Linked DNA regions of Homo sapiens: region 2 is linked to region 1. The links are contacts of gene promoters, found by promoter capture Hi-C in human tissues and cell types (Jung and others, 2019). All regions are on one chromosome and are shown on one strand. The core of a region is centred on a gene start or on the middle of the fragment in contact, and the rest is flanking DNA. Distances in the headings are between cores, read along the strand shown.

Region 1 (3,395 bases), core at 340-2,839:
GGACAAGGAGTATATATTTTCAAATTGGCTTGGATTATCAGGTCCAACTATAATGTAAGTAGATTTGCCCTGTTAAAAGAGATATTTTTAGGGGCATAGTTCAACATAGTTCAATTTAGAGAAATTAGGTGACATTTTATTTAATTTTTTTTCCAAGAAGCAAAAGGAAGATGAGAAAACATATCACCTGAAAATTGATCCATTAACAGATTGCTAAGGTTCATGAGCAGTACTTAAAATTACTTACTGTAATTATTCTTCATCTCTTGGGTCCCTTTTACTTTGCCTCTTTTATCGATCCTCAGGTACCACTGTGTTCGACAGAAGAGTCTTCTCACTCTTATATCCCCTCCTTCCATGTAATCATAACTTCTTGTGTGTCGCTCAGGGCTGGAACAGTTCACATTTGTAGCCATTTGCTCTGGAGTCATGTCATTGCAAGCTAAAGATATAGTACCCACTAGACAGATAATGTGAAAGCATGATCTGTAGAGCAAAGTTGGCAGGATCCATGTCAGTATCCATTTGTGCATTATAGTGTAGTGCTCCGGGTGTTCATGAATAACATAATGAAAATGAATCTTGAGTTGATTGTTACTCCTAGGTCATTGACCTCTTCCTATCTGTGAATTGTAGATTGATTTAAGAAAGAGTAGTTGCTCTTTCCAAATTGTTAGCCTTATCCTTTTAGTTCCTGATAACAACACAGGATTCCTCCTTAAATAACTCTGTTGATAAATCCTCATAAAAACAGTTCGTAGTAAGTTCAGTTGCTGTGACGCTGTTTGCTATTTGACTTCTGTTTGCAATGAGAGATTAAGAATAGGGAGGGGAGGAGAGAGGAAGATAAAAAATTGTATGTGTAAATTTTAGTGGGTAAGTAGTAGCATTAGAATACAGTATAGGTTATTCTTTGAAGATACATTTAAAACAGCCTTCACAGAGGATGTCAAAATCTTTACCACTTTATGTGTAGATTTATAAAATTTATGCATGAGTAGAGACAAAACAGAATATGACTGTACCATTCATTCCAATTGCTATTTTGTGAGAACCATACTGCACTCAGAACTATTGATTTAAATTAAGTTTTTACAATTACTGCTAACAAAGTGTAACTGCTTTCTCCCTAGACTTCTTTATTATATGCTTTTACATTTGTGGTTAATCAATTATTTTCTCCTGAACTGCCCAGGTTTTTTAAGTTAAATGTCAGGATTGCTCTGGAGAACTTCAACCTTATCTTTATGTTCTACAGCATAATTACTATAGTTACATGGCTCAAAAATCTTGTAACTTTACTTTCCTGCTCAGTACTAAAATCAGAAAAAGAGATAAACTTTTAGAAAACATTCAGCATTGTTTTAAAAGACAAATAACAGTAACTTACTTGTTTTGTTGCTAACAGCTGGATATATAAGAATTCCATGTCTGTTGTCTGCCTGGTGCAACTTGAGCCTTTCTACTGTAGCTACAAACTATTTCTCAGCTGAAAAGTTCTCCAGCAGAATCATAATTGTTTCCATAAATCAACAGGCAGAAGGATTTTCTCTCTGTGTGTGAGCGCGTGTGTGCTTGTGTGTGTGTGTGAGCCTTTTATTCAGGGCTTTTCGATAAATACCTTTGCTGACCTCATTGGAAGCAATTAAAACTTAGCCAGTGAGCTGTTAGTTGAATACAACAGCGAGAATAAAAGGAGGCTTGTATAGTATTCAATGGTCATGAGAGGGAGCTATGAACATGTTTTATGCTTAAATCTACAAGTGGGTACCTACTTTGTAGAAACAGATCTCTGGTTCTGAAGCAGTTAGAAGGGGAAAGGGAATTTTTTAAACCTTCTTTGCAATATAGCAGTTGTATTATACTTGGAAAATTATTCATTTGAACATATATATAGGGTTTTTTAATACTTAGAAAATCTTTTCCATAGCTTTATGATACATGCATTTCTTCAATTACTTCTTTGTGCTCAGAATGTTAGAACAAAACTGGTATGTGTTAACTAACATATGAGTGCCTTAAAGCACTGTGTAGATAAGTTGAATATTATCACATCATACAGAGACAATTCATTGAATATGAATATAAGTACAATTTTTATGTATTATATTCCTAGGCTGAAAGTGAGAAGATCTAGATTCTTATTTGTGTTGGACCACTAATGACCAGTATGACTTCGGGCAAGTTACCTGCTGTTCCAGAGTCTCAGCTGCTACATTTGTAAAATTGGTGTATTGGTCTAATGCCTCTATGGTGCTTTACAATTCTGTGATCTGTGACTTATACTCACTACTAATATAAGGAACAGGGCACCTACTTTTAAAAGCTGTTATTCTTTAAAAAGGAGGAAATGGTTTCACATTGATTATCAGTGTTTGATTTTTGCCTCAATAAGAATATTGGAACAATAAATGTTAATTTAGAGATGGAATTATAATATGTATTGCTAAGGTAAATAAGTGAAAGCTATTTTACTTTCCAGCATGAGTTCTCTCCTTTACTTCCTGTTCTGTTATACATGAAGTAGTGCTCAAGTGTTGTATTAGATTCTTGGTGTAGAATAATTGTGTTGTCTATCTAAATCAGTATTAAGAAAGTATATTAAAATTATCTTTTTCATGTTATATACTCCTCAAAACACACACGCGTGCACGCGCGCGCGCGCGCACACACACACACACACACTCTCTCTCTCTCTCTCTCTCTCTCTATGTGAAATGCACTACTTTACCACCAGGTGGTGCATGTAGACCAAATAGGAAAAGGAAATTAAATCTACTCAACTGGATTATAGTTTATGTGATTTCTCTTTGTATCTGTCCCTTTAGGGAACAGAATGAAGAGCACAGAATAGTTCAGATGTACCCAGTTACTCTTCATATGCCAAATGTTGAATGTTCCACATTTATTAAAGCAGAGGGGGACAGACTCTTTGATCATTGCATCTGTTGAAAGCTAGAAAGCTGAAAACATCCTATCATGTATTCTCTAAAAGGAGGAAGAGAAGGAGGAAAGAAAATATAATGTTATTGTGTTCTGAATCACACTCCGCTAGTTTGGGAGGTAACAATAATGAGCAGGCTCAGAATTCCTAGGACTTAGATATTGCTTCTAAAGAAATAAAAGTTATCAATAGTAAGTTTACAGTGTAAAGATATTCAAGAGCTACTAAATCCATTTGTTCCATACTGAACCTACAGTTTTTAAACCAAGAAATCAGTAAGTGAGAAGTCCACATTTGCTAACTAAGTGCTAAATACTTAAATGAAAGAAATGGATAGTTTGTTAGCAAAGAGTGCTTAGTGCCTCCTTAATATCTGCTACATAGGATTAACTGTAAAATGGGAAACAAAAGAATAAAATTGTGATCTATGAAAGTGCATTAGATGCTATTA
Region 2 (3,452 bases), core at 952-3,451, 500 kb before region 1:
ACTCCTTTCCCCCACTTCTCTTCTTGGAAATGTTCCCTACTACTCATCTGGTAATGTCCAATTCAAATGTTACCCATTTTTCAATTCTTTTTCTATTCTCCAAATAACCACATTCTTCTGTGTTCCCCAGAATGCCTTGTTCATAACACCAGTGTGGTATTAATTCCATGACACTCACAACTATCCTAGTCATTAAACTGTGTGCTACCTCAGGCAAGTGCTGTACCTTAGTCTTCCTAAACTGCCCAAGGCAAAGCACAGAGCTTGGCACATGATAAGTTTTCTATAAATGTTTATGAAATACTACTCAACCCAGCACTTTGTAAATTATGAATATCCTACTCATGGTATTTAATCAATTTCTTACTATTTAAAAAGTGTTTATACGTAACAGTAGGGTTTTTGGTCTCTAACTACTAGAAACTAGCCTTGAAAGATGGCTCTCAGCAGGTAAAAACCAAATAACATCTGAGAATGTTTATTTTTATTTTTATGTTTTGACAACAGGGAAGTCATCACCAGTGCCACTGATGAGCACACATGCCGTTCTAGGTGTTGGCTTAATGTTGTATCAGCAGGAGCTATCTTCTATTTACAGCCTCAGGGAAGGTGTTATTGATGTTGGTTTGGCCCAGAGTTGGTTTCTTTTTGCTCTGAGGGTGTTGACAAAAACCTAAAATTGCTACACAGGGAGATGTTTGGCTTTTCCTCAGCATTGGTCACCATTACAGGCTGTGGAGAAATTGCAGCCTAACCACAAACATCAGATGTTTGCCTTAATGGATCCCATATGAGGAAAGGTAGTGCTCTACCACAGAATGCATGAAGGTTTGCTGGATTTATTTTTATTCTGCTTGGTTTTTAATCAGGAGGATTTTTAGAGGGACTCTACCAGGGCAGAAAAGTCTTTGCATGATAACAAGGCAGAAAACAATCCTGGTCTCATGATCGTCACATGGGTTGGTCTGTAGGAACAACACCCTGATGCAAAGGCTCAGGCATTGCTTCTGTTGCTGCTGATCCTCCCCTTTCTCCTCCTCCCTCTTCTGCTTCCTTGTTTTTGGGTGGCAGCCATTATTCACTAAATCATCAATGTATAATTTCAATACCAGTAGTACTTTCATTCTGAAGAAAGAGCCCTGATTTAAGTCAGAAGTATCTACATAAAAATTGATTTCTATAAAGGATTTTTTTCCAGAGGGAACAGAATATACTATATTAGTAAAAAATATAAATGACATTATATAGTTTTGGAAGGACCAATTCTACTAATTCTGTAAATAGAAATACAGAGATAAAATTCAGAGGTGGCTATTAACAGGGGCAAGTGGCAGATAACCATTAAAGAAGAAGAAATTACAAGAAGCTTCTTGGAAGGCTCTTACGAGATCTTTAGATAAAAGTTGCTCAACTCTAAACTTTTTCAAGATTATCAAAGTACAAATCACACTGTCATGTGACAGGCATTTCTCTGTGTAGATGTATGAACAGCGGCGATATGGCAAAATAGAATTATTTACCACCCTTCACAGTGCTGCTGTTGCATCTAACTGGAAGCCATTTGTGACATTTTTTCTTTCCTTTATGTCACAAAGGCATAGCTTCTGCTTTCAATAAATTGTGCACAATTTTGGTTCATCTTAATTAAGTAAATATTGATTTAAGTTCCCCATATGTTCCAGGGCCTTCAAGCTAAGGGAGAATGTGAAAAGTTGAAAGGTAGTTCTATGTGGCTGCCTCCAAGAGAACATGGTAAAACAGACTGGATAGTGCAGCTGTTAATAAGCTCTATATGTCATGTCAAGGAGTCCAAACTTAATAGAAGGGAGAGGGAAGCTATTGCAGGATTCTAAGCAGCAGCATGAAGATGACTGTAACTGGAATATACAGAAGAGTCTGGAAGGAAGCAGTACTGGAATGGGTAAAACCAGTTAGGTTAAAGTGATTTTCTAGGCAAGAGAGAAGTGGCAAGAGAAATCCGTAGCTTCCCTTAGATGTATGGTTGGTGAAGGGAGAACTGTGAGTGATGCCTAGATTTCTGATTTGGGAGACTGAATGGATGGTGAAGCTGATTACTAAGACTGGGGATATAAGAGGAGTAGCTAATTATTGGAGGAGGGTAATATGTCCAGTATGAGTTTGGTGTGCTTGAGCATATCCAAGAGATTTTCAACTGGTAGTCGGATGTGCAGGTCAGAATGGAGTGCTAGAGATGGATTGGACAGGAGATACACATTTGAAAACAGCCTGGTGTTGGAACCTGAAGCCATAGAAATGATGCAGTTGCCCAGGGACAGTATGAAGGATGGGAAGATAAAAAAAAGACCCCAAGTAAATCTCTGAAGAACACTAATATTTAAATGGAAAGCATTGGGAGAAGATTTTATAACCTAAAAACTGTAACCTTTGTCCAAGTTCTGGCCATATGTTATCGTGACCATTTAAAACTATGTCCTTTTTAGTTTATTTAAGAAATACTAACTTCTGAAATGACTTAGATTTTATTAACTTTGAACAGAAACGACCAGAAGGCTTGGAAGAAAAGAGATATAAAACTTGCTGCTAAAGCAAATGTTTAATGAGTAAACATAAGCAGGATTCCATGAAATTGGATTTCCACAAAATCAAATTTAAAGGGACAAATACTAGGTTAAGGGAAAGTATCAGGGATGGAAAGTATTTATTGAATCAGAAAATTGTACTGCTGCAAAGGACCTTTGAAGTTAGATTGTTTAAACATCTCCTTTTTACATGTAGAAACTAAGATACAGTGATGGTAAGGGATTTACACAAATCACAATCAGTTTGTGATTCTTCCAGACCAGTGATTCTAAATGTGTGGTCCAGGGAACCTTAGGGAACTTTGTGAGTTTTTCAGAGGATGCACAAGGACAAAAGTATTTTCATTATAATATCACTATTATTTATCTTTTTCATTCTTTTTCTCATGAGTATACCATGGAGTTTTGCAGAAGCCACGTGACATGTGATGTCACAACAGAATGAATGCAGAAACAGATATGGGAATCCAACCCTCTTTTATTAAACTAGATGTTACAAAGATCTGTAATCATGTAAAATAATGCCAATCTCCAAACTAATATTTTTTGGAAAATATAGTTTTTTTATAGAAATGTTATTTATGCTTATATGTTAGATTTACAATAATAATAATTATAGTAACTAGTGTTATAAAACTGATATAATAAAATTTCTCATTTTTAATTTCTAATATGGATATTGATAGATAACATTCACTTAAAAAAACTTTTTAGAATCCTCACTCAGCATTGAAAAATTATAAAGAAGGTCCTGAGACCATAAGTTAGAGAACTAATGTCCTAGTCTAGAATACAAAATACAGGCAAATGTAGGTTATTCATCGTTTGCCTTTATACCTCTGGTGTTGGAAGGGAGAAAATATAAGGGAAATTATTCAATTGGATTATTGT

The links. The method cuts DNA at HindIII sites, captures the fragments that hold promoters and counts their contacts. A contact is called where the count stands out against the background at its distance.
Region 2: a contact is called between a fragment that was not itself captured here and the fragment with the promoter of FGF7 in region 1, in 1 of the 25 tissues and cell types used here (dorsolateral prefrontal cortex).

The regions. Positions count from the first base shown.
Region 1 is chr15:49,421,436-49,424,830 of GRCh38, reverse strand. It overlaps FGF7 (fibroblast growth factor 7), which reads right to left and starts at 1,589. Exons shown (of 4, transcript NM_002009.4): 1 at 1,391-1,589; 2 at 248-799. The coding sequence starts at 533. All of the region lies in intron 11 of FAM227B (family with sequence similarity 227 member B), which reads left to right. The HindIII fragment of the contact is 10,247 bases long and covers 1-3,395 here.
Region 2 is chr15:49,924,912-49,928,363 of GRCh38, reverse strand. The region is part of intron 16 of ATP8B4 (ATPase phospholipid transporting 8B4 (putative)); the gene reads left to right. Among named protein-coding and RNA genes, the nearest start is that of ATP8B4, 190 kb to the left of the region's middle. The HindIII fragment of the contact is 3,396 bases long and covers 504-3,452 here.